Regions from separate parts of the Homo sapiens genome. Here regions 1, 2, 3, 5 and 6 are each linked to region 4. Evidence: promoter capture Hi-C in 16 types of primary human blood cells and fetal thymus (Javierre and others, 2016). All regions are on one chromosome and are shown on one strand. Each heading gives the region's core, a stretch centred on a gene start or on the middle of the fragment in contact. The rest is flanking DNA. Distances are from core to core; before and after follow the strand shown.

The links. The method cuts DNA at HindIII sites, captures the fragments that hold promoters and counts their contacts. A CHiCAGO score of 5 or more calls a contact.
Region 1: a contact is called between a fragment that was not itself captured here and the fragment with the promoter of SPTLC2 in region 4, in 1 of 17 cell types (naive CD8 T cells). The highest score is 5.8, in naive CD8 T cells.
Region 2: a fragment that was not itself captured here is called in contact with the fragment with the promoter of SPTLC2 in region 4 in 1 of 17 cell types (naive CD8 T cells); the score reaches 5.8 in naive CD8 T cells.
Region 3: a contact is called between a fragment that was not itself captured here and the fragment with the promoter of SPTLC2 in region 4, in 1 of 17 cell types (neutrophils). The highest score is 7.1, in neutrophils.
Region 5: a fragment that was not itself captured here is called in contact with the fragment with the promoter of SPTLC2 in region 4 in 2 of 17 cell types (activated CD4 T cells and neutrophils); the score reaches 5.1 in activated CD4 T cells.
Region 6: a fragment that was not itself captured here is called in contact with the fragment with the promoter of SPTLC2 in region 4 in 2 of 17 cell types (activated CD4 T cells and naive CD8 T cells); the score reaches 5.1 in activated CD4 T cells.

What each region holds. Positions count from the first base shown.
Region 1 is chr14:77,014,841-77,018,009 of GRCh38, forward strand. No RefSeq gene overlaps it. Among named protein-coding and RNA genes, the nearest start is that of IRF2BPL, 12 kb to the right of the region's middle. RefSeq lists an enhancer at 1-202. The HindIII fragment of the contact is 763 bases long and covers 880-1,642 here.
Region 2 is chr14:76,814,410-76,817,242 of GRCh38, forward strand. No RefSeq gene overlaps it. Among named protein-coding and RNA genes, the nearest start is that of ANGEL1, 2.9 kb to the left of the region's middle. The HindIII fragment of the contact is 1,698 bases long and covers 646-2,343 here.
Region 3 is chr14:77,088,414-77,091,704 of GRCh38, forward strand. No RefSeq gene overlaps it. Among named protein-coding and RNA genes, the nearest start is that of CIPC, 8.2 kb to the right of the region's middle. The HindIII fragment of the contact is 8,703 bases long and covers 1-3,291 here.
Region 4 is chr14:77,615,191-77,618,175 of GRCh38, forward strand. It overlaps SPTLC2 (serine palmitoyltransferase long chain base subunit 2), which reads right to left and starts at 1,447. Exons shown (of 12, transcript NM_004863.4): 1 at 1,258-1,447. The coding sequence starts at 1,389. RefSeq lists enhancers at 704-913, 1,242-1,774 and silencers at 1,094-1,293, 1,434-1,483, 1,814-1,873. The HindIII fragment of the contact is 6,254 bases long and covers 1-2,985 here.
Region 5 is chr14:76,938,258-76,941,545 of GRCh38, forward strand. No RefSeq gene overlaps it. Among named protein-coding and RNA genes, the nearest start is that of LINC01629, 20 kb to the right of the region's middle. RefSeq lists an enhancer at 1,682-2,182. The HindIII fragment of the contact is 5,193 bases long and covers 1-3,288 here.
Region 6 is chr14:77,035,070-77,038,092 of GRCh38, forward strand. No RefSeq gene overlaps it. Among named protein-coding and RNA genes, the nearest start is that of LINC02288, 4.5 kb to the right of the region's middle. The HindIII fragment of the contact is 222 bases long and covers 1,449-1,670 here.

The DNA.
Region 1 (3,169 bases), core at 11-2,510, 600 kb before region 4:
GACAGTGCCTGGCCCACTGTCAGTTCCAAAGTCTACAGTCAATAATTTCTCTCCCATGGAGCATGGTGGCTCACGCCTGTAATCCCAGCATATTGGGAGGCCGAGACCGGCTGATTACGTGAGGCCAGGAGTGAGAGACCAGCTTGGCCAACATGTTGAAACCCTGTCTCTACCGAAAATACAAAAATTAGCCAGGCATCGTGGCACTTGCCTGTAATCCCAGCTACTCAGGAGGCTGAGGCAGGAGAATCACTTGAACCCAGGAGATGGAGGCTGCAGTGAGCCAAGAGTGCGTGACTGCACTCCGGGCTAGGTAATAGAGTGAGACTCTGCCTCAAATAATAATAATAATAATGTCTCTCCTTCAGTCTTTTCTTTCAACCACAGCATCCCTGTCTGTGACCTAGGAGTACAATTCTGACAGCCTCCACGAGCTGCTGTGGCTGGTGGGAGAGGGAGGGGAATGAGGCTATTGGTAAGGAAGGCTCTGGACGCTGTTGGGATAGCTGGCCTCCATAGACACTGCCCCACTTCTTCCCCCAAGTCCTTCCAGAGAATGTCCAGTCATCCAGGGGCTGCTCAGGGCACCCAGCTAAACACAGGGATGTGAATGCCCTGGATGTGGGCCTGTGGGCCAAAGATACACACAAACACACACACACACACACTCACTCACTCACACTCCTTGCCCAGAAGCCTAGGATGCACCAGAACCAATCCTTGGCTGTGGGGGCAGGGGGCATCTTGCTGACTTTCCATCAGCCCCCAGACCCAGATTGGGGCTCTGTCTGACCCAAGCCCAGTTCCTTGTCCTGGACCTTTCCGCTTTTCCTGGCTTGTCCTAAGATCTGCCCTCAGGAGACATATATTATAGATCTAAGCTTCTCTGTGCTTTTAATACTGCTGAACATGTACACGAAATAACTGCCCACAGTGCAGGGGAACTGGAGATTTGGAATGAGAAGGAGACCGACTTACTTTTCTCTGAGTATCTTCTCAGGCTCTTTGATTTTTTTTTCTTTTACCATGTGTATCTAATACCTTTTTTAAAATTAAAATACTCCTGGGGCCAGGCACGATAGCTTGCGCCTATATAATCCCAGCACTTTGGGAGGCTGAGACTGGCAGATCACTTGAGGTCAAGAGTCCGAGACCAGCCTAGCCAACATAGTGAAACCCTGTCTCTACTAAAAATACAAAAAATTAGCCGGGCGTGGTGGTGCACACCTGTAGTCCCAGCTAATCGGGAGGCTGAGGCAGGAGAATCACTTGAACCTGGGAGGCGGAGGTTGCAGTGAGCCAGGATTGTGCCACTGCCCAGCCTGGGCAACAGAACAAGACTCTGTTTTGAAATAAATACATAAATAAACAAACTCCTGGGATGGCGAAATGGTGGATGATGGCTTTGATTGTTGTTCTAAGAAATTTGGACTTACCCTGTAGGCAACAGGGAGCCAAGGGAGGTTTCTAAGCAAGGGTGTGACTTGCTCAGATGTAGAAAAAAAATGGATTCTGCTACAAAGCCATGGCCTGAAGTGGGCAGACACCAGAGCTTACGGGAGACCAGTCAGGAGTTGGGACACTTCTCTCGAGTCTAACCTAAACCTGGGAGCCACAATTATAGTTCCCATGTAGAGAGGTAAGCTTTCCTGGATCCAGCACCCCAGACCTGGTGGATGCACACCTGTGACCCCCAAAGAGGCAGGACAATCAAGCTACGCCCAAGAGGTAACTGACCAGCATTTCAGCCTGAAGAAAACAAAACTGAGGCCAGGCACGGTGGCTCACGCCTGTAATCCCAGCACTTTGGGAGGCCGAGGCAGGCGTATCACCTGAGGTCAGGAGTTCAAGACCAGCCTGACCAACACGGAGAAACCCCGTCTCTACTAAAAATACAAAAATTAGCCAGGCATGATGGTGTGTGCCTGTAATCCCAGCTAGTTGGAAGGCTGAGGCAGGAGACTTGCTTGAACCCAGCAGGCGGAGGTTGCAGTGAGCCGAGATTGCACCATTGCACTCCAGCCTGGGCAACAAGAGTGAAACTCTGTCTCAAAAAAAAGCAAGACTGGGAGGGAAGACACCAGCTAGTGGGGTAGATACTCCCCACAGAAGCAATATACCTTACAAATCAGGGCCACTGCCTGTTTCCTGTCATCTCTCTGTTCCATCAAAAATGAGACAGAGGTAAGCTCATTTTTAAATTAAGTTTGAGGGTAGGAGGCAACTGAGGACGACTTCAGAAGAACAGCCCTGCTCCAGAATCCCTGATTGGAAATACTGCTTGGACAGCTCCACTGTGTTCCCTCAGAACATAGAACCTAGGACGGGTGCGGTAGCTCACGCCTGTGATCCCAGCACTTTGGGAGGCTGAGGTGGGCAGATCACTTGAGGTCAGGAGTTAGAGACCAGCCTGGCCAACATGGAGAAATCCCATCTCTACTAAAAGTACAAAAATTAGCTGGGCGTGGTTGCAGGCGTCTGTAATCCCAGCTACTCGGGAGGCTGAGGCAGGAGAGTCGCTTGAATCCTGGAGGCAGAGGTTGCAGTGAGCTGAGATCACGCCACTGCACTCCAGCCTGGGCAACAGAGACTCTATCTCTAAAAATATATATATAATAATAATAATAAAATAAAAATAATTAAAGATGAACATAGAACCTAGAAAGTGTTCTCCCCAAGGGGCTTCCTGACAGCCCTGCCTGTAGATAGCCTTGCTCACTGGTGTCGGTGAGGCTCACACTCAGACTCAAGGAGATGTGGAAAGGGCCAAGGGATGGGGCTGGTGCTGTGAGTCTTGGTTTCCTGGGCTCTGCAGGTCAGAAGTTTGTGGCCCTCTGCACAAAGGAACACTGGAGTCTGGGCAGACCCAGGCTCTAGGCTGCCTGGGGCTTGGATTGCACTGGGTCTAAAGGGCCTTGGCTACTTAACCTCTCTGAGCTCAGTTGGCACATCTATAAAGTGGGGCTCATCACGCCTTCCTCCTAGACAGGCCTAAAGCTGGAATGGTACAATGTGCAGCTGCCAGGCACATTGCACAGCATCTGGCCTGTCCCTAGACTCCTTCAGTTCCCCCTTTAGCTGTGGAGGAGAGATGGCCAGGCAGAGGTGGGTGGCAGGGAGAGAACTGAGAAGCCCCAAGCTGAAGGGAAAACGGGGGAGTCCTTGGTGT
Region 2 (2,833 bases), core at 245-2,744, 800 kb before region 4:
AACACTGAAAGGCTAATAGGAGGAAGAAGGAGAGAGTTAGTATTGTGGCCTTCCCACTACTTACCCTTAGTTCTAGAGGTGGCAATGTCTGCCTGCCTTCAGGCAACAGCACTTATCCCTTTGAGATGAAACAGAGGCCCAGCAATCTGAAGGTTGGGAAGCTGCTTAGAAATTAGTGCACAAATGGTGGATCTACCAAAGGCGCTCCCGAGGTCAGGCCCCCTCCTTTGATGTAGCTTAAGTAAAACCCTCCTTGTACCCTCCTTCCATTTTGTACCATGAGTTATCCAGAAGTCCAAGTTCCAAATCAGATCCTAATCAAGGGTAACGGTTCCCTTATCTCCACTGGGAAAATGCTTTCAAAATACAAATTTCTAGGCCCTACTCCCAGAGTTCTGATTTAGCAGCCCTGGAATGAGGCCCTTAAACACTTACTTATTCCAATGCACGGTTTGGGAACCTCTGCTAAAGGATCCAGTCTCAACTGGGCTGTTCAGTGCACAGTGTGGGCACAATGTGTCAGCCCAACTGATCTATGTTCTTTCAGAGGCTTTTTCTGCGGCCAGTTAAGTGAGGCTTCCCTCTTTTTGTTTCCTGGTCCATAATCAGCCGTGTTGGAAGGTGTAGGGTGATATAAGGATCACAAGCTTTGGAGTTAGACCAACTGAGTTGAAATCCTGGCTCTGCCACTTTTTACCTGTGGAATCTCTCAGGTTGCCTAAGCTCTTGGGGCCTCAGTTTCCTCATTGTGCCTGACCCAGTATAAACTCTCAATGTTTACTATTACATTTTTGGATTTGGGCAGAAAAGCAGCTCCAGACGTGGCTGATGTAGGATCTTCTTCCACAATTTCTGGCTAAAATAGAGCTCCTGCCCTCCAAATTGTAATGAGTATTACTAAGCAAGCCAATAACTACAGGTTCCAAGGAGACTTGGCCGAAGGAGTGGAGCCTTAGGCTTCCCCAGTCAGAGGAAAATTACAAGTGCAATCTGCACAGTCTCCAGCCTCATTGTTTCAGAAATATCCCAAGAAGAGAGACGATTCCCTCAATTCATTCCAGCTGTGCTAACAATGAAGACAAGTATGAGCACCTGCATCCATCACTACCATGGTTTCCAGGGTGCAGAACCTATGTAATGGAGCAAGTGGGAGGTTTTGCAATACTTTGAGAGACTTAAGATGCTCTCTTAAAGGGACATTTCCAGTCTATAAGAAATTTAAGCCCTTGAGGGCTAAAATTTTACTTATGACAACAAATATATGTGGAATTCCAACAGAGTGGCTGCATTTATTAACTTATTGGTTGAACATGTGCAAATATTGGGGCGGCATAGTGCTTTCTTCAGGATTACAGAGGCTACGGACCAACGCCTGGGACAGTGCTGCCCAAAAGAAATATGTTGTGAACCACATATGCAATTTAAAATTTTCTAGTAGCCTCATGTAAAAAGTAAAAATAAATCAATTGATAAAGCAAGTGAAATTAATTAATAATATTTTATTTTACCCCATAGATCCAAAAATTTTGTATTTTAACTTGTAATCAATAGTTCAAGATGAGATATTTTATGTTCTTTTTTTGTACTAAGTCTTCAAAATCCAGTGTGTATTTTACTTGGACATCACATCTGAATTTGGACTAGCCGTATTTCAGGTTCTGAATACTGCAAGGAGCTAATAGCTACCGTACTGAACATGGGCTGTTCTGGAGAGTGCAAACAGCTTCTCAGATAGGATAGGCTGAAAAGATTTGCTCATCTTCAACTCTTACGATAACCTGAGGCCTCTACACTCCTAGTAATCTGCCTTCTCTGAGCCTGGTGTTTTCTTTGGGAATCTCAAGATTTATGACTAGGCATTCCCAGAATGTGCCAGATTAGTCTGAATTAATGCATTCATTTGCTCACTTATTCACTGATTCATGCATCCATGTGTTCATTAGAGATTTATCAGGCAGTCATCAATGTTTACCCCAACCTCACCCTTGACTTTCCTTGACCTCCTGCCCACTCCTCGATTCCTTGAAACTTCAGCCCTGGACTCACAGTCTTCTTCCCTACCTCTAGTCCTCCTGTCACCAGTGTGGATGAGCCATCCTAACCCCTGGAAGCTCATTGCCATGACCTCCTTAATGACCTTCATTTCCATGTGCTTCAGACACACCCTTCCCTGGCTGCACCTTGGATATGTCATTACTGGGCACTGTTTCCCGTCTGAAATCATAAATTCACACACCCACTCTGATGGCATGGCTTTCTCATGGCTTTCTGCCTCTCCCACTTCTACTTCATCTTTTCTTTTAACTCCATCAGACCCTTGATTTCTCTAGTCTGTCCTTCTCAAGCTTTCCCTCAGTCATCATTTCTTTCCCTATCCAACATGGAATTCCCATGACCCCTCTTTTAAATCACTCTTCCCAATATCATCAACTCTCCTGCCCACTGTTCTTAGATTATATCTGCGTGGGTCAGTAAAACTATTCTTCTTGGCTCTTACATCTGGGCTGCTGAGCAACAATGAATAAAATTACCAACCCCAAAGATTGAGGCCATTAGTGTGCTAGTCTCCAACCTCTCTTCTGCTCGCAACCCTCCCCAGCAATTCTATGCTCTTTAATTAGCTTTCTCTCCCATTCTCACAATGATTATTCTTCTCAAACTTTCTGCCCTATTGCCTCCCTTCTTGCTCTTAGGAGATTATCTCCCCATCAACTTTAGAGAAAAAAATAGAGCCACCAAGTGTAAATTCTCTACTCCCTGTTGCCACAACAATGCATTGACCAGCATCTCTAACCACCTTTTCCTCTTCTCCCAACACAGCAGTTGGCACTTC
Region 3 (3,291 bases), core at 86-2,585, 530 kb before region 4:
TTCAACCCAACATATGGAGCCTGTTTAACCTGTTTTGGTGCTGACTTAAACAAGCCCAGCTGGCCAATCCTGTGAAGTGAAACTTGACAAAGGCCCATCCAGACTCCCTGGGGCTGGAGAGAGGAGTACTGGCATATGACATTCTTGGGTATATCTCGGTCTGCAAAGTACAGCCACTATATCTCTACTGACTACTAGGTTTTATAAGATTCTTCATGGAATTCCAAATAGAGTCAGCCATGAGCCAAATCAAACATAAAGGAGGAGGATTCAAGAGCATTCTTGAGTAAATTTCAGAATGGAAAAGACCCTCCAATGACTCAGAGGGGTGGGAGGAACAATGCAGGCTCTGGGATTTCTTTGCCAGAATGACAAGTGTAGAGCAAAACCTGTGGGAGTCACAGTTACTTTCATTCCTCCTTTCCCCAGTGGCCATACACAGGTGTGTGCAAAAGGCCTGGAGGTGGCAGAGAGTGGAGCATGTCAGGGAACTGACAAAAGAATAGGGACGAGCTCCTGTGCACCTGTGCCCACGGAAGCTACTCACTCCCCTCCTTCATGGTGTCTTTTCCTTCTCTGGAGTCCTTTCAGTGATATGTGAGCCCACTGTTAAATGTTCAGGAAGTTTGGGTCCCACTGATAGCAAGTTAGTTGAACATCTACTATGCAGAATTTACTTTGTGGGAGAAAACCATTAAGATATAATCCCAGCCCTTAAGGAGTTTAGACTCCAGTGAGGGAGACAGAGAAGTACGCAAGAAATTACAAAACAAGCCAGTCTAGATCAAGCTACAAGACACAAAGTACTCAATTTTTGTAAATAATTTCTATATGGAGGCTATTCCTAATCTTGGTCTTTGTAGTCAGCTTCCTATTACTGAAGCAACAAGTTCCACTAAAGAGCTCCAATTCCATTGGGCTTTCTGCTGTGGTGGTCTGTGTTCCCTGTCTTTTGTTAATCCCATGCTGGTGAACTCAACTGGGATCCAAAGGCTGTTGACAGAAGGGAGGTAAACCTATGAGGCAAGATATGAAGCCAAGGCAAACCTCCAAGCCAAAAATCAAATGCTTCCACACAAAGGGGCAAGTGAACAGCTTTCTGGGTGGCCTAGAGAGAGAGAAGGTGTGAGTTTAAATCAAAGACTTCAAAGCCGGGCATGGTAGTTTGTGCCTGTAATCCCAGCTACTTGGGAGGTTAAGGCGAGAGGATCATTTGAGGCCAGGAATTCAAGACCAGCCTAGGCAACATAGGAGGGCCCCATCTTTAAAAAATAATTAGCTGGGTGTGGCAGCATGCACCTGTAGTCCCAGCTACTTGCGAGGCTGAGGCAGGAGGATTGCTTGAGCCCAGGTCAAGGCTGCACTATTGCCCAGGTCATGCCACTGCACTCCAGCCTGGGTGACAAAGAGACTCTCATCTCAATAAATAGACGACTTCGTATTTAGTTGGGGAAGGAGTATAGGGGCAAAGAGAAACCTTCCCCTTCGACCTCTGAAAGTTTGCCAAAAAAATCAGCTCACAAAAGAAGATTAGAGAAAGGGCGTACAAATGTATTAATGTGCAAACAGGGAGAACCACAGAGTGCTTACCCCACTGCCCAATGGGGTCCATATAGCCTTATTTCAGGTGGAGGGGGGAGATAGGGAATACAGGTAATTCTGTTGATTGGCAATAAATGGTTGCTAGGGAGAATGAATGGATTGAGGAACAGAGATTAATTTCTAAATGGTTGTCTGAGTGAGTCTGCAAGAGAGACATCATCTTGTGAAAGAGTCTGTTCAGGTGTGGTTACATTCTTGGTCTTTTCTGCAATAGATAATAAGAGGAGGAAGCCAGGCACGGTGGCTCATGCCTGTAATCCCAGCACTTTGGGAGGCTGAGGCAGGCAGATCTCTTGAGGCCAGGAGATTGAGACCAGGCTGGCCAATATGATGAAACCCCGTCTCTACTAAAAATACAAAAATTAGCTAGGTGTGGTGGTGCATGCCTGTAATCCCAGCTACTCAGGGGGCTGAGGCATGAGAATTGCTTGAACCCAGGAAGATGGAGGTTGCAGTGAGCCAAGATCACATCACTGCACTCCAGCCTAAGTGGCAGAGTGAAACTCTGTCTCAAAAAAAAAAAAAAAAAAAAAAAAAAAAAAAAAAAAAATTCAAGGTGGCTCACGCTTGTAATCCTAGCACTTTGGGAGGCTGAGGTAGGTAATCATTTGAGGTCAGGAGTTCAAGACCAGCCTGACCAACATGGTAAAACCCCGTCTTTACTAAAAATACAAAAAACAAAAATTAGCTGGATGTGGCGACACACACCTGTAATATCAGCTACTCGGGAGGCTGAGGCAGAAGAATTGCTTGAACCCAGGAGGCAGAGGTTGCAGTGAGCTGAGATCATGCCACTGCTCTCCAGCCTGGGTGGCAGAGCAAGACAATGTCTCAAAAAATAAACGAAAAGAAAATAGATAATAAGGGGCAGGGGCTGGGAAACAATTGTTCTCCTTGTAGGGTCTATCCAATCTTTATGTAGATAAGGGAAAAGTCTTTTCCAACATCTGTTGATCTCTAAGGGCTTTTAACTCAAAATACTCATTATATCTAGGAGCCATATTTTAGGGTGAAGTTCCTTATGCTCTTTTGGGGGAAATACTTTAAAAGTCTTTCCACTAAAAAGATTCAGGATGAGGGTCTAACAGGTACAAGGCAGCTTCTGAATAGTTTGGGCAGGTATGTGGGTTGAAATCAGCATACAACACACACACACATACACACACACACACTCACACACACACCTCAATTATCTCTATGATGTACAGAGAAAAAGATGACCAGCTGGAGGCATTTTCTGTAGTATGCTTTTACAGTGCCCAGCCCCCATTCGTGGCATCCTCCTTTCCACACAAGTGCCTGTTACCTAATTGTCAACTAAAGAATCATGAATTTCATAAATCTGGAAGGGAGAGCTTTATTTCTCATAAAAGGTTGCAGCCTGCAGGCCCACAGGCTGGGAAGTGTAACCTTCAGAAGAAGCTAAGAGCAATCACTTCAAGGGAAGGCTAAAGCAAACAGAAATTTATGCTTAGCTGCATGGCCAAATATATAATATTCAGTCAGCTACAGGAATCATGAATATTTATGAAAGGAGAAACAACCATATATGCAATTGAGCTTCACATTTCTTCCTGAGTCCTATATTCAAAAAAAGTAGTGGTGTTAGCATGGTCCAAGAGTAGAGTTTTTGGCCCTCTTGTAACTGCCCAACAGGTTCTTCTTACCTACTGCACAGATAAAACCAAT
Region 4 (2,985 bases), core at 197-2,696:
TAAAAGTGAAAACAAATCTTTTGATCTGTGTATTACTTCGCTTTGACACCTTACAACTTCAGGGGAGGTCAAGTCTGCTTTACTTATTTTTCCCCTCAACTCAGTCTCAATATCTCAACATGACCTGGAAAAATGCTTTATTTTCTGCTTCGCAGCAAACAGTAACAGACCTATCCATCATAACTACTCATCTGGGGAGTAGTTATGTTAAAGCCAAATTAAGATCACCATCCTATCAAACTGCAACAGTCACACTCCCGCTAAAGGGAAACAGAGTACTTTCTAAGCGTTCCTTAATATCTGTACAAGACTTAAACGTATTAAAGTCAACTGCAAAATTATCGCAACACTCTCTTCCAGGAACACCGATCTTGCATCTTTTTAACCAGCTCATCTTTAAAAACACATTTCAACAGAATATCTGTCAGTCCAGACCACTGTAAGGTTGATAATAAGCATTGTCTTGAATTTAGAACTTTTCAAAATATTTTAGAACTGCCTGAACTTGGTTGATGATTCAGCATGGTTAATTAGTATAGAGTCATCGCAAGTCACCACCAGGCTAAACAATCCCCTTGTGTGATAGCACTCGTGTTCAGGAAAGGGTCGAAGGGGCCACCTAATCCAACCTGGAGCCTGGGGTAGAGTCTCACCACCGGCAGAGTTAAGAGAATGATGCTTTCGAGGGACCAGCTTGGATTCCCTGCCAGATCTATGGACCAATGTCCTGGTTGGGGACTGAACGTGGTAGTCCAGAATGTGGTTGGGAGAGGCTGGGTGTGTTTCCATCTGACACCACCGCCTAATTTTCTTTGCTTCTTAAGGACCCCATGGGTGGTTTTCTTTGGACGACTGCAGGACTTTAAAAGGAAGCAATAACCTCAGGGGTTTGAGAAGGGACCCTCCGGAGCCCTTGGGCGGCTCCCACTGGAGTCCGAAGGGCCCCTCATCGCTTCCCCTGGGGACAGCACACACTTCTGGCAGAATGGGGCAGAGAAAAGTACCCGGAGCTCTGAGCAGAACCCAGAGCTCCGGGAGTAAGACCTCCAGGCGCGGAGAGGTGGGGAGCCCCCGAGCCGTCCTTGAGCCTCCAGGCTCGTGGAGGTCGGGCCAGCGGCCGGACACTGCCGCCCACACCTGCGAACGGCGCCCGCCCCGCGGATTGCCCAGCGGATGGCCCGGAGACCTCGCCCCGCCCGGCCGCCCCTCCGCCAGTCCACACCGCCACCCCGGCCCCGCCGCGCGGGCCCCTCGTACCTGGCCGGCGGCGGCTGCGGCTGCGGCTGCAGCGCTGCTCCTCACGTACCCGTTCCGTACTTCCCCGTTCGCCACGCAGCCATTCGCCCGCACCGTGCGGCGGCAGCAGCAGCCTCCGGGCTCCGGCCGCATCTTCCTGGCAGCACCAGGCGCAAGGCAGGCTCTGTAGGCGGTGGCAGCGGCGGCGGCTGCTCCAAGTCCCGCTCCGCACCCCACCCACCTCCCCGAAACCGGAAATGGCTGCAGCGCCGCCGCCAATTCCCGGGCGGGCCTTCACAGAGGGCGGGGCCCTCTCCGCAGAGGACCGGTCTCGGCCAAGGCCACGCAGCGAAGGGAAAAAGCGGCGGGGACCTGCCGAGAGGGATGTGGTCCTGAGGACCGCTGACCAATCTGGAAGAGAAGGAGGCGGACCCCATGCTGCTGCCTGGCCAATCACGGACGAGAGCAAAGCGCCTCGCCGGTGGAGAGGGGGCTTCTCTAGAGGGACTCCAGGGCCTGGCACCTGATTGGAGGCCGCATCCAGGTCCGGGGTAGGGCTTGCCTGTTTAATGGTCCAGACCGAGGAGGAGGCGGAGCCCAGGGAAAAGTAGCCAATTAGAGTGTGAGGAAATAAAAGGGGCTGAGCCGAAGTCTCTAGAGCGGGTTCCCAGGTTCTCCAGGACAGGTGGCGCCCTCTTTGCCCTTGCCTCGTGGGAAGTTTTGGAGTTTATGTCCTAGCCCAAGACAGGCAGCTCGCTTATTTAATTAGCTGATTCCTCTGTGAGTGTTTATAGAATAGATTTTTTGACAATCTCTCATCATTCTTCAATATGCGCCACACATTCACTATTTCTGAATTATTATAAGTAATAATTCAGATGCCTTTTCACGTGCCCTTCACATTTGCCCTTGGCAGGGTTTTCTATACAGTCTCCTTTAAATTAAGTCTTTCCTTCAAAGTTAGAAAACCTGGTCTAATTCCAACTCTGCCAATAACTGGAAGCTAAAACTTGAGCACTGTGTTTAACCACTTTAGAAGCCAAATTCTTTAAAATGGAGTTAATACTTCCTGCTTCATAGACTTACAGCAAGAATTATATCATTAACCCATTATGCACCTCTTATAATACTAGGCTTATAGTAGGAGTATAATAAATATTATTTTCTCACCCTTTTAGTTCCATCTTCCCATGGGGTTAGAAAGCAAGGAAATTGATCTACATTACAATTAGAGACTTTCTGTTATCCATAAAGAATTTAGTATCATAATTGAGAGTATGGACTCTGGAGTCGGTCTGGGTTTTAAATCCTAGCTGCGCCACTTACTAGCTGAGTGACCTCTATGTGTCTTCATCTGTTCAGTGGGGACAATAATAGTTGTCGTGAAGATTGAATAAGTTTATGTATGTAATGTATTTTGTACAGGACCTAGCAATTAGTAAGCATTCATTAAGTGTTGGTTACTAGTAATTGCTAAATGCACCTATGAGAATCCGTGCATTCTTTCCCCACCCTGCAGGAGCTTTAGAAAGGAGGTCCACAAGGTATTGGTTTTGCATGACTTAGGAGCTGAATAATCTAACAGAAGGTGGGATCATTCATCCCACACATCCTATTTGAGTTGACAAACACTATTGATCCCAAAGTGAATATACATCTGTATGTATAAGGCTAAAAAGGAAACATGTGGCTGTGCTTCATGGAGCTTACATTTCAGTGAGAGACAAGATATACACATAGAAAGAAAAC
Region 5 (3,288 bases), core at 646-3,145, 680 kb before region 4:
GTGGCATTAATCCCATGCCAGGGGGACAGTGGTTGCCCCAGATGGCTTTCCCCATCCCCTGCCTTTATCCAGAACTGGCCCAGGCATGTCCACCCTCTCTTCTACACATAGACCCCCAAGGCTACCGCCAGGCCTGGAGCTTGGCCATTTTTGACTGACTCATGACCAGAATATTCCACCGTTCCTTCAGCACTGGGCCCACCAAGGCTCTTCATTGACTGCCTTGGCCTCTCTCCCTAGCGCCAGCTCCAGGTGATGCCCGGCCCTCCCTAAGGGCTGATGGACTTTTCCCACAAGGAGGCTTGGAGAACAGGACAGGAAGAGAAAGCGTGCCCACCCTGCTGGGGAGCCTCAGAGGCACACTCCCCTCCTCTCCTCCAGGGACTGGCAGGAGGGGATTACCTTGCCTCAAAGTGTCCCTTATCCCAGAATTACTGCCCACTTTCACCCCTGTGCTGGGGGGAGCAGGGAGAGCTGCCAGTGAGTGACATTCACCTGTAACAAGAGCCCAGAGCAGGCTGGGTGCGGTGGCTCACGCCTGTAATCCCAACACTTTGGGAGGCCGAGGCGGGCAGATCACCTGAGGTCGGGAGTTTGAGACCAACCTGACCAACATGGAGAAACCCCGTCTCTACTATAAATACAAAAAATTAGCAGGGCGTGGTGGCACATGCCTGTAATCCCAGCACTCGGGAGGCTGAGGTAGGAGAATCGCTTGAACCCAGGAGGCGGAGGTTTCAGCGAGCTGAGATCACACCATTGCACTCCAGCCTGGGCAACAAGAGGAAAAACTGTCTCAAAAAATAAAAATAAAAAAATTTAAAAAAAGAAAAAAAAAAAAGAAAAACACCAAGAGCCCAGAGCAGAGCACTCTGCAGCCTGACAGCAACTAAAGTAGGCTGGGGAGGGGTGTGGCCTTCAGGAGGCTCAGGCCCCATCAGTACCCAAAAGCACACCCGCCTTGGGATTGGCCCATCCTGCCAGCACTGGCGACATTGATGGAGTGGTTTCCACGTGTAAATGGTGCCATCTATTCACCAGCTCATGCCCCAGCAGATCCCTCATAGAGAGGGAACTGTTGTCATTCCCATTTTACAGAGGATGCAACTGAAGCTCAGGGAGTGCTGAGAAAACCTCCAGCATTCATACCAATTCTTTTCTAACTGCCCCTGTTCATTCTGTTCATTTTCTCTTTTTTTCTTTCTTTTCTTTTCTTCTTTTTTTTTTTTTTTTTGAGACAGGGTCTCACTGTGTTGCCCAGGCTGGAGTGCAGTGGCACAGTCACAGCTCACTGCAGCCTCGACCTCCCGGGTTTAAGCAATCCTCCCACCTCAGCCTCCCAGGGCACGTGCTAACATGCCCAACTAATTTTTTTAATTTTTGGTAGAGATGAGGTGTCACTATGTTGCCCAGGCTGATCTCGAACTCCTGGGATCAAGTGATCCACCCGCCTCGGCCTTCCAAAGTGCTGGGATTATAGACGTGAGCCACCACACCTGGCCCTTCTTTTATTTTCACACAGGAACTCCTTCCAGGGACCCCCAGTGTGTCCTGATGCACAGCTACGGGTTCCAAGGCAAACCCTTCCTGACCACCCCAACCGTCCCCTGAGCTCCCTGAAGGAAAAGTGAGAGGATGGGCAGCCAAGGCCTGGGCTGGGGACAATGGAGGTCTCATCTGGGTGGTTGAGAAGAAGGAAGGATAACTTGGTGACAGCTGAGTGTTCTCTGAGCCAGGTTTTTTCCATTTTCCAGCCAAAATGGAGAAAGGAGGAAAAGGCAGCCTCTGGGCTGGGGTGGGGAGAAGGAGAGCAGCTTCCTCCTCTTCCTCAGCCCAGCCCCAGCCAGTGTGTCCCATTCTTCCTGGCACCCTCAATCCCCTCTGCCTCCCCTCATGTGGAATTTCTGGGAAAGAACCAAGACTCCAAAGCAAGATAAATAGAAGTGAAGGGGGCTTGGGAGGAGCATTCCAGGGCTAAAAATAACAGGGTCAGCTGGCTGGAAGAGCAAATGGCCCCTAGCCCCTCCCCATCTCCCCCAGGGCCGGCTCCCATCCAGCCCCCCTCCTCTCTCAACTGGGCTCCCAACCTGGGAAGTCTGGAATACCAGTCTCCTATCACCATGCCCATGATCCCCTTTCCAGATCCCTCCCCAGCTGCGGGGCCACAGTCAGGGGAGGTAGGGAGCCCACCCCACCTAGGACCTCCCCTTCCACAGCACCCACTGGAAAGCGTGGGCAGCTACAGTGGGCCCACAGCCTGGCAGCTACGCTTCTCGCCTGCCTTCTCTATCATTTATTTATGTTAACAAAATACAAGTTTGGGCCGCGTGCAGTGGCTCATGCCTGCAATCCCAACACTTTGGGAAGCCAAGACAGGACTGCTTGAGCCCAGGAGTTTGAGACCAGCCTAGGCAACATAGCAAGACCCTGGCTCTACAAAAAATAAAAATAGAAATGATGAGTTAGCAATGTGTGGTGGCGCACCCCTGTGGTCCCAGCTACTTGGGAAGCTGAGGTGAGAGGATCACCTGGGCCCAGGAGATCGAGGCTGCAGTGAGCTATGGTTGCACCACTGCACTCCAGCCTGGGTGACAAAGTGAGACCCCTGTCTCTAAAAAACAAACAAAAAAACAGCCGGGCCTGGTGGCTCACGCCTGTAATTCCAGCACTTTGGGAGGCTGAGGCGGGCAGATCACTTGAGGTCAGGAGTTCAAGACCAGCCTGGCCAACATGGTGAAACCCCATCTTTACTAAACACACACACACACACACACACACACACACACACACACACACACACACACACACACACAATTAGCCGGGCGTGGTGGCGGGCGCCTGTAATCCCAGCTACTCTAGAGGCTGAGGTGGGAGAATTGCTTGAACCCAGGAGGCAGAGGTTGCGGTGAGCCACTGCACTCCAGCCTGGGTGACAGAGTAAGACTCTGTCTCAATTAAAAAAAAAAAAAAGCAAAAAGCAATACAGGCTTGTAATCTTGTCAGCAAAGGCAGGGATATTTCAGAACCAGAAGGATCTCGTTCTCCCTACAAGAGCATCCCCACCACTGGTAAGCAATTCCACTTCTACAGACGGTAACAGAGGGGAGAGTATGGAGAAAAAAGAAAATTCTAGGAGAAAACTCATCCAGCACCTACGGTGTGCCAGAACTGTGCTAGGCTTGTCTTGTCCATCGTTTCACTCCATTCTCACAGAACGTAGATATTGTTCTATCCCCATTTTCCAGATATGAAAACTTAGACTCAGAAATGCAAAGAAAGAACCAAAAT
Region 6 (3,023 bases), core at 310-2,809, 580 kb before region 4:
CTCCCAAGTAGATGGGACTACAGGTGTGTGCCATCACGCCTAGCTCATTTTTTATTTTTAGTATTAAAAAAAAAGAGAGAGATGGGATTTTGCCATGTTGCCCAGGCTGGTCTCAAACTCCTGGACTCCAGTAATCCACCTGCTTGGGCCTCCCAAAGTGCTAAGATTACAGGCGTGAGCAACTGCGCTCAGCCCCTGCCAAAACAAAAACAAAAACATGTTATTTATTTATTTTGAGACAGGGTCTCACCCATGCTGGAGTGCAGTGGTACGATCTCTCACCTCAGCCTTAGGAGTAGCTGGGACTACAGGCATGCACCACCCCATACCTAGCTTAGTTTTTTATTTTTTGTAGACACGGGGATCTCACTATGTTGCCCAGGCCTGTCTCTTCTGGGCTCAGGCAGTTCTCTCACCTCAGCCTCCCAAAGTACAGGGATTACCACCGCATCTGGTCTCTTCCTGCCTTTTCTATACCCCGGTCCTTGGCAGAGGTGATGGAGGAAAATCTGAAGTTCTAGAACTCACTGAAGCATTTAGGAATTTACTGAGATACCCTTACCAAGGACAGCAGCATTTTCATTGTGCACTCTTGAGAAAGACCCCAGGCTGAACAATAAACAAGGAGGAAAATGAAGAGAGTGCATTTTATAGTGGAAGGAGCCTCTTCTCATACCCAAAAGTCATATCACATAAGTAACGTGCGCCACCTTATACGGGTCACACCAGCTGTATAGACACTCACCCAACATGTACTGTCCTGTCCTTAGGCTAGGGGCCACATGATTGTGGCAGGCTACAGTCCTCAAAGCACTTCTGGCCACCAGGTGCAGTGCAGTTGTGCACACCTGTAGTGCCAGCTACTTGGGAGGCTGAGGTGGGAGGATCACTTGAGCCCAGGAGTAGTTCAAGACTGCAGTGAACTATGATCACACCACTGCATTCCACTATTCCACCCTGGGTGACAGAGCAAGACCTTTTTTTTTGAGATGGAGTCTCACTCTACGCCCAGGCTGGAGTGCAGTGGCGCAATCTCGGCTCACTGCAACCTCCACCTCCTGGGTTCAAGCGATTCTCCTGTCTCGGCCTCCCAAGTAGCTGGGATTACAGGTGCCTGCCACCATGCCTGGCTAATTTTTGTATATATTGTTTCATGGGGTTTCACCATGTTTGCCAGGCTGGTCTCGAACTCCAGACCTCAGGTAATCTACCTCAGCCTCCCAAAGTGCTGAGATTACAGGTGTGAGCCACCGCACCCAGCCTTCATCTCTTAAGAGAAAAAAAAAAAAGCACTTCTAGCCAAGGGTAGGTGTATAGCTCTGACATCAAATCTGGCCTAGGCATCACTGGAGCAAGAAAGCCCGGAAACAAAGTGACCCCTCCAACACATGTAGAGGACCACCATACTTTAACCTGAACTCCCCTCTCTGGCCGTACACAGAAGAGTAAGCTTGATAGGTTCCTGGTGTGAAACTATTCTCAGTACTTACATTTTGTTTCGAAGCTGAAACTTGGCTACCAGATGGCCTGGTGGGTTTCTGTTCCCCAACTCCCTAACCAGTGCCCTTCCATTTACCATTCATTCAGTTATTCAACTATTTATTTAGGGAACACTTTCTATCTCAGTGCTGGATGAACCAAGCCAGACTGGCTGTAGCCCAGAATCTAGAAGCTTCCATTTCCTCCTAGGTGTCCTACTTTCCTGATGCAATAGCCCAAAAGTCATAAGAGGCAGAGCTTTTTCAATACTCCCACCAGCCACATGACTGACTTAGAGCAATCTATTTATTCTCTCTGGGACTCCATTTCTTCACCTGTCAAAGGTTGATATTAAAACCTGTTCTCCCTACTTCAGGGGTTTGCTATGAAATTCTGTATGTTAATGCCTAGGGCTGTAGAAAGGCGAGACACTGTGACAAATCTTTTTTCCAGCGCTAAGCCCTTCGAGGTAAAATGGGTGGAAAGCCAGGCCTGCCGCTAAGCCCTGTCCACTCTCTTCATCTTGCCCTTGGAGGGCCTCCTCCTGGGGGGCCAATCTAGCATGTCCATGTCCTTCTGGGCTGGCAGACAAACAAGCAATGACAAGCTTTAGGCCTAAAAGCTGGAGAAAGACAATAGCAAGGTTAGGCTGTTTGTTTCTCATCTCTCCTAGAGAGACAAGGATATCCCCTCCCCAAATCCCTGGTGGTGGCAGTGAAGCTCGGAGCAGTTGGATTTATTTAGGGCTTTTACTTTTTTTTTTTGTTTTGGCCAATTTGGAAAGAAAAGAGGCAATGACCTCTTCTTTAAAAAACAAAACTAGGCAGGAAGTGTACTGGGCCTGAGTGGCAGGGACTAAGGGTGTAATTACAGGTTTTTGTTCAGCATTTTCGAGTAATTAAATCCAAAGGAAAGCGAGCCTAGCCGAGGCTTCTTGGATGCAGGGCAGAGAAGAGCTGTGTGTATGTGTGTGTTTTGTGTGTGTTGGGATGGGGAGGAGAGGCAGGAGGTGAGAAATGGATTTGCTTTTCAGGCTGAGAAGAAGCGGGCTTCTCGCCTTTATTAATATTTTTACATTGCTTTTTCCAAAAGGTAGCCGATTATTCATCTTTTATTCGGTGCCACTGCCCTCTCCTTGGTGACATTTTCAGCGTGCACAGCTTTCTAGGCACTGATTTTCCTTCACGCCAACTCTCCCCCTCCCCACTTTTTCATATTCCCGCTTTCTGCCTGGTTGCCCACACAATAAACCCACTGCAAAATCCGCAGCCAGCTTTCTTGCCTACAGCTTCCATCCCAGCGACCTCCGACGCTGAACAATAGTCTCTCCTTTTGTTTTAAACATCTTCTGGCTTTCCTTGTTCCGCTTTAAAATACTTCTTACCACCACCATCCCTACCCAGCCTCCCCCGTGGTTGCCTCGGTTTCCTTTTGGGACAAGCAGTCTGTGCACAAGCGCACCTGGTTTGCAACGCCCAGAGCGTTTGAAATGGGTTCAAAGCCTAGGGATGCGCGGGCTCCTCTCTCCTCCCCTCCTCTTCCTT